Linked DNA regions of Homo sapiens: region 1 is linked to region 2. Evidence: promoter capture Hi-C in 16 types of primary human blood cells and fetal thymus (Javierre and others, 2016). All regions are on one chromosome and are shown on one strand. The core of a region is centred on a gene start or on the middle of the fragment in contact, and the rest is flanking DNA. Distances in the headings are between cores, read along the strand shown. Region 1 overlaps PPME1 (protein phosphatase methylesterase 1). Region 2 holds the start of NUMA1 (nuclear mitotic apparatus protein 1).

Region 1 (5,129 bases), core at 2,196-4,695, 2.1 Mb before region 2:
ATGAACCCTGGAACATCCTATCAATAATAAATGTCCTTGTAGTTTAAACTACAGTAAACTGATAACAGCAAATTAGATTGTTTCACATCAATATAATGTTGCTAATGTGAGTTTGGGGATTTTTGTAGACTTAATTGTATTTAAAGAGTAAATCTACTGAGTTTCACAATTATTTAAGAGTACTATTGAATTTAAGTAATATTAGATTGAATATAACTTAGGTCAATACTTGGAATCTGAAATATATTTCCTTCAAAAGGGATTCATACAAATTGAAAGATACCATATTTCTTCAAGGAACATTCAACATCATAAAAACGTTTATTCTAAATTAATGTTTGTATTTAATGTAATCCCAATAAAAATACTATCAGGATTTTTTTCTGGCACTAGTCTATGGGATTAGAAAGTTTATTTGTGAGAAAAAAACAAGAGGAACCACGAAAATCCTCAAAATGAATGAGGGGTAAACAACCTCTACCACCCATCAAAACATATTAATAAATCCTCTAATTAAAAGTACAGTAGTGGCACGTAAAAGAAACTCCACAGACCCGGATTTATATAGAAATTTGGCATATGACAAAGGTGTCATTTTAATCAGTGAGAAAGAAGACTTTTTTTTTTTTTTTTGAGACAAAGTCTCACTCTGTGTCCCAGGCTAGAGTGCAGGGGCATTATCTTGGCTCACTGCAACCTTTGCTTCCCGGACTCAAATGATCCTCCAGAGTAGCTGGGACTACAGGCACACACCACCACACCCAGCTAAATTTTTGTGATTTTTGTAGAGAAGAGGTTTCACCATGTTGTCCAGGCTGGTCTCCAACTCCCAAGCTCAAGTGGTCCACATGCCTTGGCCTCCCAAAGTGCTGGGATTACAGGCATGGACCACTGAGCCTGGCCAGGACTATTTCTTTATTGTAGTGAAATTTACGTAATGGGTAAAGGACTAAAAAATTTAATAAATGATGAAAACAACTAGATAGCCTTTGGATAAAAATAAAATGTCTTCTTTTCCTCACTTTGCATATCAAGATAAACTTCAAATGGATTAAAAAAAAATTGGCTCATGCCTGTAATCCCAGCACTTTGGAAGGCTGAGGTGGGTGGATTACCTGGGGCCAGGAGTTCAAGAGCAGCCTGGCCAACATAATGAAACCCCGTCTCTACTAAAAATACAAAAATTAGCTGGGTGTGGTGGTGCATGCCTGTAATCCCAGCTACTTGGGAGGCTGAAGCAGGAGAATCGCCTGAACCCGGGAAGTGGAGGTTGTAGTGGGCCAAGATCACACCACTGCACTCCATCCGGCCTCGGTGACAGAGCAAGACTCTGTCTCAAAAAAAAAAAAAAAAAAAAAAAGGACACTACACAGGTACCAGGAAAAAATATAAATGATTCCTTTATAACCCAAAAAAAGGAAAAGCCTTTCTGTGACTCAAGATCCAGAAGCAATACATGCTGGGAGGAAGGGAAGATGCTAATGAGTAACGAGTTTATGGGAGGATGAAAATGTTCTGCAATTAGTGGTGGTAATTGTACAACTGAGTGAATATACCAAAAATCACTGAATTGTACATTTAAAAGAGTGAATTCTATGGCATATAAATTTAACTTTTTAAAAATCTAATGAAAAAATAAAAAAAAAAACAGAAATACTGGGATTTGATTATTTTAGTAACTCAATTTGTGACCTTGAGCAAATCACTTCACTTTGCCCTTTATTTCCCCATCTGTGTGAATAGCTCATTAAAGCCTTCCTAAGAGGCCTGATATCCATAATAAATTTAAGAAGATGGATGAAAGACTATCTAATCAGATATGAATAAACATACAGCTTGTGGGGACAAAAAAGCTGATAACATAAGAAACTGAAAGGAGAGCTTCCACATAAACTATGAACCTTCTTCACAGTTCTCAATGTATAATTATCTACTAGCTATCATTCTTTAAGAGCTTATGTGTCAGTGTCAGGAACTATAAGTGCTTTTTATGTATTATCTTATTCTCACAGCACTCTCAGGTAAGCAGAAGTATTCTCATTTTAGAGATAAGAAAATAGACTATGAGAAGTTAAATGACTCGACCAATGTAAATACCTAAGTTGGGCTTCAAACTTAGATCTTTGTCACTTCAAATATCAAACCCTTCAATGCAAGCTATAGAAAGAACAATGGACTAAAAATACGAAGTCCTGGGTTTGAATGTTGTTCCTGCCACATAATGATTCTGTGATCTTAGGCAAGTCAATGAACATTTCAGTTTTCTCATTTATTAAAAGAAAATATTAACTCCTGCCCTAGTTTACCTCATAGAATATAAAAAGGGACTACTATATACATGTCAGTTAAATCACTACAGAGCTGGGCATGCTAGCATGTATCCTCAGTCCTACCTACTCAAGAGGATGAAGTGGGAAGACTGCTTGAGCCCACGAGTTTGAGGTTGTAATGCACCAAGATTATGCCTGTGAAAAGCCACTGTACTTCAGCCTGGGCAACACAGCAAGACTCTATCTCTTGCAAAAGAAAAAAAAAGGAATTTAAGAGATAATAATAGAAAAGTAGAACTTTTTTTTTTTTGAGATGGAGTTTCGCTCTTGTTGCCCTGGCTGGAGTGCAATGGCGCGATCTCGGCTCACCACAACCTCCGCCTCCCAGGTTCAAGTGATTCTCCTGCCTCAGCCTCCTGAGTAGCTGGGATTACAGGCATGTGCCACCACGCCAGCTAATTTTGTATTTTTAGGAGAGACGGTGTTTTTCTATGTTGGTCAGGCTGGTCTTGAACTCCCGACCTCAGGTGATCCACCCGCCTCGGCCTCCCAAAGTGCTGAGATTACAGGCATGAGCCACCACACCTGGCCAAAAAGTACAACTACTGATAAACCAAAAACACGTTGAATAATGAATGGCTTTAATATTTTATAGTTCCTCTAATAGTAATAGTATATACGAAAGCAGTGACTTTCAAAAGATACTTCTCTCAAGCACACCAGGGGTGCAAAGCAAATAGGGATCTCAAATCTACTTTAGTCAGAGTAGCTCTAAAAGCTTTAATAAAGAAGTTCAAAACCACTGTTTTTGGCAACATCCATTGGCATCTATTAAAAGGAAGAGTGACACCAGGATTTCAGGCCTTACCCAAGAGAAAATATTAGTGTACTGAAAAGTGAATGGATTCTAGAGACTAAACTTAGATTGAATCCTAGCTCTGCTACCTACTAGTTGGGTTACTTTTAATCTCTGGGTCTGAATGTCTTTACCCACAATGCAGGAAAATATTCACCATGCAGGTCTGTGGACACATTAAATAACATAAAGTTACCATTACAATGTCTGGCACACAGTACTTACTTTAAAAATTGCTATTATTAAATTATCCAACAATACTTTGGAATTACTAAATCTAATCTGAAAAACTGAATTATGGAAACTCATGAAAAATCACCAACTCAGAATATGCACCCTGAATATGCAAACATGCCTAAATAATGTTTAGTGAAATTGAAGGCAAGAGATCATGAAAAATAGTTAAGAGTAAGCCACACAAGAGACTATCAAGAGAACAGGACTAACTTGTGAGTAACATAGATAGAGTGGAAGAATGGAAGTTAAGAAAAAAGCAAGTAAGCATAAGGAGACATAAAGAATGCTTTGAAATTGGTGTGAGACTTCATAAATTACGACTGAAGAAAAAGACTGAATCCTAGATTATATGCAAATGAGTAAGATACACAACTCAAAATAAGTATCCCCAGATGACAATTATGACTCCAAAATACACAATGGGTCTCACAGTCAAGAGACCCAAGTCCTAGTCCTTAACGGCCCTACCGCTAAGCTTCTAGGGTACCTTAGGAATATCTGAGTCTCAGTTCCCTCATTTATTAATACATTCCCTTATAGAATACAGAACTCTCTGAATATTGGGTTCCTCAACTACATGAAGTGGTGAAATGAGACCATGTCTATGCTTTCTCTCAGCTTTATGATTCTAAGGAGAAAGAGAATCTATATTATTACTACCATGAGACTTAGATGAAGCCTGCTTATATACCAATAAAGTAGAAAAGAAAGATACGGGAAAATAAGCCATTTGAGGACCACACAAATATTCGCCAATATATGCTCTTCTCTTCACAATACTATCATAAAGAAAGGCCTTTCTAAAGAACTTTCTTTTCCAGGATAAGCAGTTAACCTAAACCAAGAAGACCAAAGCATCTTTTTAAAAAGGTAAGTTGTCCAGGCACAGTAGCTCACTCCTATAATCCCAGTACTTTGGGAAGCCAAGTGGGGCAGATCACTTAAGGCCAGGAGTTTAAGACCAGCCTGGCCAACATGGCGAAATCCCCTCTCTACTAAAAATACAAAAATTAGCCGGGCGTGGTGGTGCATGCCTGTAATCCCAGCTACTTGGGAGGCTGAGGCACAAGAATCACTTGAGCCCGGGAGGTGGAAGTTGCAGTGAGCCGAGATTGTGCCACTGCACTCTAGCCTGGGCAACAGAGTGAGACTCTGTCTCTAAAAAAAAATAAAATGAAAAGTAATAAAAAATAAAAACGATAAATTACTAACAATTATACAATCTTCTAATCAGCAGATTTTCCTTTTTTTTTCTCTCAGTATCTTCATTCAGTTCTTCAATCTTCAGAGAACTTGTTTCTCCAAGATGAGAAGCTGAGCTCTAATTAAGCTTATCTAAGGAATGTATAATTATTAAAAATCTGATTTTCTTATGTATTTGTATAGAAGGGTGCTGGTATACTGAAAAATCAAATTTATTTTAAGAAAGGCAGCAACTAAGATATTTAACAACAATTAATGTTACATTAATATTAAACTCCAGGTTAGTTTTCCCAAATAATGTTATGGGTCAGTTTCCAAATTCTCTTTATTCATGTTATAGTCCAACTTTTCTGTCTTCCAAAGCCAAAACAATCTTCACTTTACCTTCTATGTAGCCTTCTACCTCTATTGTGCGTCTATCTCTCTATCTCCTCCTGCTAAAGTTTTCTCATTTTTCTACTGCGTATCATAGCAGGTCTCCACTCAATTCTTAGTTTCCTTCCCTGGTTTTTCCACCCATTTTTCCCATTCCTTTACCCCACTGTTTTATAGGATTCTCCTTT
Region 2 (4,869 bases), core at 1,473-3,972:
AACTGAAGGGGAGAGAAGGATGAATATGTATGGTTAGACTGGAGGCTGGAGAGATGGGAGCAATAGGAAACCACATAGTATTAATATTAAATGGGGGCTGGCTGGGCGTGGCGGCTCACGCCTGTAATCTCAGCACTTTGGGAGGCCAAGGTGGGCAGATCACCTGAGGTCGGGAGTTCGAGACCAGCCTGACCAACATGGAGAAACCCCGTCTCTACTAAAAATATAAAATTAGCCGGGTGTGGTGGCGCATGCCTGTAATCCCAGTTACCTGGGAGGCTGAGACAGGAGAATTGCTTGAAACCGGGAGGTGGAGGTTGCTGTGAGCCGAGATTGCGCCATTGCACTCCAGCCTGGGCAGCAAGAGCGAAACTCTGTCTCAAAAAGAAAAAAAAAAAATTGGGGGTGGGGTAGAGAGTGAACAGTATCAGCTTTGCATTTTGAAGGATCACTCTGGTTGCAGTGCGCAAATATGGCTGGGAGGGAAGGCAGGAAGGATGTGATGGTAGCTAGGACCTATATAAAAGATATTCAGGAAGTAAAGCTGATAAGACTTAGTGATAGATGGGAAATGGAAGAGGTATTAAGTAAATGGAAGAGGTACTAACTTGGGTTTTGGGCTTGGGTATATTGTGGATAAAGGTAGGAGCACTGGAAGAGATCCAGGCTTGGAGGAAAAGGTTGGGATACACAGAGATTGTTTCAATTTCAGAAATGTAGAGTTTGGGTTGCCTTTGAGGTATCCTAAAGGAGATGTTGAGGCAATTGGCTATATAGATCTGGAGCTTAGAGATGAGGGCTGGGCTTGAGATACACACTTGTGTACATTTGCATACAGGTGGAAAATGAAGTTGTGGGTGTGGAGGGGTACCCAAGAAGAGAATATAGAGTGCAGTGGCAAGAGGGCGTAGGACCAAACCTGGGAGAACTTTAAGGTAGTAAGTGGACCAGTCAGGGCCAGCTAGTCACCAGCTAGAAACCAGCTAATCATGGTCACTTCAGACATGGGTGCTGTGTTAGCCCTTCTGTTTCCTGTTTAGTTAAAAATGTTCAAGTCTCATTGTCTTAGTCTCTCTAGTTCCTTTTCCCCATTAAAAGTTTCAGGGGAGGATCTGAAATTCATTCCAGCTGAAGTGTAAATAATACAAAGTAGGCCACACAGGTTCCTTTTCCCTGGGGCAGTTTAACTTGTTCCTTGGAACAAGTCCTTCCGCTATAGAGGCAGTAGGCTGAAGCTAAAGAGACTTAGCTGGAAGTCGGAGAACTGGAGTCTAGTTCTAGCTCTGTCACTAATTTGGTGTGTGGCCTTGGGCAAGTCCCTTTTCTCTGGGTTTCAGTTTTCCAATCTGTGAAATGAAGATAAATATCCTTGACTCACAGAGCTGTTAAGAGTATCAAAAGAGAGACTGTGAAAGCACTGGGTAGGTTACTAAATGTAATAGATCTGTCGTGAGTACTAAAAAAAATGAAGCTCTAACTGTAGAGCTTTGAGTAGCGGACCACGGAGAAGGTGTGGGGAGAAAAGGGAATCTGGGGACAGATTGAGAAGGGGTTTTACTCCTTGGAAGAAGAAGGAATGAGGCACTTCACGCCCCAGGAAGTTTCCTACATCTCTAGAATTAGGGTAGCGACTGCGATTTACTCAATCTAATGCTAACCGCATGTCTTGGAAGAGGGTCTCAGTTCCTCAGAGGAAAACCAACCCCATTTCTGAGGGCGTTTCTGATCTCCCAGGTTATGCCTGGAACTTGAAGCATCCGATTTTGGGAGCTTTATGTTTGCGTTGGGGGCGGGGTTCGTTGTTTTGTTTTGTTTTTGTTTTGTTTCGTTTTGTTTTGTTTTGAGATGGAGGTATCGCTCTATAGCCCAGGCTGGAGTGTAGTTGCGTGATCACGGCTCACTGCAGCTTCAATCTCCGGGCTCAAGCGATCCTTCTACCTCAGCCTCCCTAGTAGCTGGGGCCACTGGAGCGCGCCACCAAGCCCGGCTAATTTTTTTATGTTTTTGGTAGAGACAGGGTTCGCCATGTTTCTCAGGCTGGTCTCGAACTCCTGGCCTTAAGTGGTCCGCCCGCCTTGGTCTCCCAGTGTTGGGATTACAGGCGTGAGCCACCGCTCCCGGCCCTGGGGGTGGTTCTTAAGCATCCCCAAATCTGTATGGATATATATCTCAACGCCTATCCCTCCCTCTGCTCCCCCTCGCCCAGTCTGTCCCATGTGAGTGTTGTATCTTGTTCGCTGTGAAAGGTGATGAGGGTCGGTGGGGGAAATCTCAGATCCCCGAGCAGGAAGGTTCTTAGTCGTTCTGTGAGTGCCCCTCCCTTCTCCATAGATCTCTTGTCCCCTAGAACGGGTTTCCTGTTTTCCCGCCCGACTCACCCGCAGTCGCTTCCTCTCCAGTCTTGGCGTCCCACTGCCTCAGGGTTACTCAGAGCAACTCCATGGCAACTGCTTTCGTCACCACAACCCGGCAGGCGCCATAAGTACTGACGCGATGCTTACCGGGACCTTCAGTTTGTCAGGGGCGGGGCTTCAAGGCCGCGGGTGACGCTGGGATTTGTAGTTCTCTTTGCCTTCAAGTACAGGCCGGGGTCCGGAAGCGGTGATACCCCTTCTCTTTCCCAGTGGCCCTCAAACTTCCTTTTCCCGGGTCCTTAAGCGGGCCCCGCCGACAGAGGCCAATCAGAGGGCAGCGCGAGGGGGCGGGGCCATAGTTTAAACTAATTGTGCGCTCACAGCGCTGGCGCGAGCCCACGAAGAGGTACGATTCCGGAGAATCGCGAGGCAGAGCGGGAGCGCGCAGCCAGGTAACCGGCGCGGGCCCGCGTTTGGCGTGCGGCCTGGGCACCCCTGCGGGTGCTCAGGCCTAAAAGGGGTGCTGGAGAGGCCGCTGCGAGCGGAAGGCCTCCTCCATAACCGAGTCCGAAAGGGCAGAATCTATGGGGGTAAGGTTTGTGAGGAGAGGCGCCTGAGAGGGAGGAGCCGGGGGGGGGGGGGGTGCCTTAAAGGGGAGGGTCTGTTTGGGGGCGTGTCTGTGGAATTAAATCTGAAGGTGACTGGGGTCGGGGGTATAGGGCAAGTTCCCGAAAGGCTTGTAAGCGAGGGGTCGGGTCCTGGAAAGTCTTTGCCTTTTATCGTTAACAATAGCAGTAGTTATGGTAGTGCAGTAGTCAGCATTTTCTGAGCTACACCGTCCACAATGACCTGCCAAATGTTTATCTTTTTAATCTTCTAACCACCTGTTATACTTTAAAGATGGGGAGCCTGAGGTTTATAATGTTTAGCTTGGCCCGGGTTACGTAGCCAGTGCGAGGTTGGCTCTACTTTGGGTTTATGGGTTGGGCATAAATGGGGACGGGGAAGGTGCTTTGTGGGGGCGCGCGTTGTCTTGGACTGGTCAGTGTATTTTGAGCCTCACTTTTCATATATGTAAACAATGACCTTACCTGCCTTACCTACTTCCTGGGGTGGTTGTCCTGGTCAAAACAGGTTAAGTCTTTTTTTTTTTTTTTTTTAATTTTTGTTTGTTTTTGTTTTTCATCCATGGACTCTCACAGATAACATGTTTCATACACGCACCTCGGAGAGTACAAATTTATGACTATAAGTGGTGTGACTGTGTGAAGATTGTGGGTGGGCGGGAGCCCACTGGGTTGATGCTGCCGCCTCTGGGTACTCTCTTTTGCTTACCTCTGAGTTAGCACTTGTCATTTTTTTTTTTTTTTGAGACGGAGTCTCGCCCTATCGCCCAGGCCGGAGTGCAGTGGCGCGATCTCGGCTCACTGCAACCTCTGCCACCCGGGTTCAAACAGTTCCCTGCCTCAGCCTCCCGAGTAGCTGGGATTACAGGCGCCCGCTACCACACCCGGCTAACTTTTGTATTTTTAGTAGACACAGGGTTTCACCATCTTGGCCAGGCCGGTCTTGAACTCTTGACCTCGTGATCCGCCCGCCTCGGCTTCCCAAAGTGCTTGGGATTACAGGCGTGAGCCATCACGCCCGGCCTGCCATCTGGTATTTTAAAAGTCTGCGTGTTTGTCTGCCCTTCTAGATAACGAGAGACTTTTTCGTCACTGTATCCTAATGGCTAGGCAGGATTTGCGACATGTAATGGGAATAAATGTATGCTTTGGAATAATTTCTTGGGCTGAAAGGGCACAGGAATTTCGCTTTCCCGTTTTCATTTAGTGGCATTTGAACCTCAGTATTAAGCTGTCCTCTTTACTGGAATGGCACTCCCTCTTGAAAACGTGATGATATTTTCTTGCTTTAATACATAATTCCCTCTCTCTAGTATCTGTTGCCTGGTTCTATGTTTCCAAACTTCTGGGTTGTCTGGTCGTTAAAGCTTTAATGGTAAGGGAGTTGGGCCTCTCTGCTTTGTGGAGATCTTTACTGCTGTGAATATATGGGAACCTGGGGCGAACATGAGGATCATGTAAGGTAGCTTTCTGTCAGCACAGATGGGTTTATGTTTCCTCAGTCCCTCTTTCTGTGTGGTATTTTCTTCTTTAGAGGAAGAACCACATACTTTTTTGTGAAAGCTTCCAAAGTATTCTTTTCGTAGCCTAAGTTCTAGCAAGGGATGACTAATTGTAATGTCTAAGCTCTTAGTTCACAGCGAAAAGCGGTACATTCCAAAAGCTTAAAGATCTTACCTGAAAGCTCGTTAAGAAACGTAGAATTCTTTTTTACATGTGGAACATGGAAGTGGGAAGAATGCCTTGAAATAAGACTTGAATTCTAGAACTTTTAGGATGAGGGCAAAGCCCTGCTCAGGTGGCTGAACAGAGCTGATCAGGGGCTGTTTGGACAGCTGTGTCTAATTGATAAAACTATGATCAGAAGATATTAGGTTTGTGCAAAAGTA

Evidence for each region. The method cuts DNA at HindIII sites, captures the fragments that hold promoters and counts their contacts. A CHiCAGO score of 5 or more calls a contact.
Region 1: a contact is called between a fragment that was not itself captured here and the fragment with the promoter of NUMA1 in region 2, in 1 of 17 cell types (non-activated CD4 T cells). The highest score is 8.0, in non-activated CD4 T cells.

The regions. Positions count from the first base shown.
Region 1 is chr11:74,172,953-74,178,081 of GRCh38, reverse strand. The region is part of intron 1 of PPME1 (protein phosphatase methylesterase 1); the gene reads right to left. Among named protein-coding and RNA genes, the nearest start is that of PPME1, 4.2 kb to the right of the region's middle. The HindIII fragment of the contact is 790 bases long and covers 3,051-3,840 here.
Region 2 is chr11:72,078,395-72,083,263 of GRCh38, reverse strand. NUMA1 (nuclear mitotic apparatus protein 1) reads left to right here and starts at 2,722. Exons shown (of 27, transcript NM_006185.4): 1 at 2,722-2,806. LRTOMT (leucine rich transmembrane and O-methyltransferase domain containing) reads right to left here and starts at 2,414. Exons shown (of 9, transcript NM_001145310.4): 1 at 2,379-2,414. It overlaps LRRC51 (leucine rich repeat containing 51), which reads right to left and starts at 2,414. Exons shown (of 6, transcript NM_145309.6): 1 at 2,379-2,414. RefSeq lists enhancers at 1,401-2,355, 2,367-2,636, 2,356-3,311. The HindIII fragment of the contact is 5,366 bases long and covers 1-4,349 here.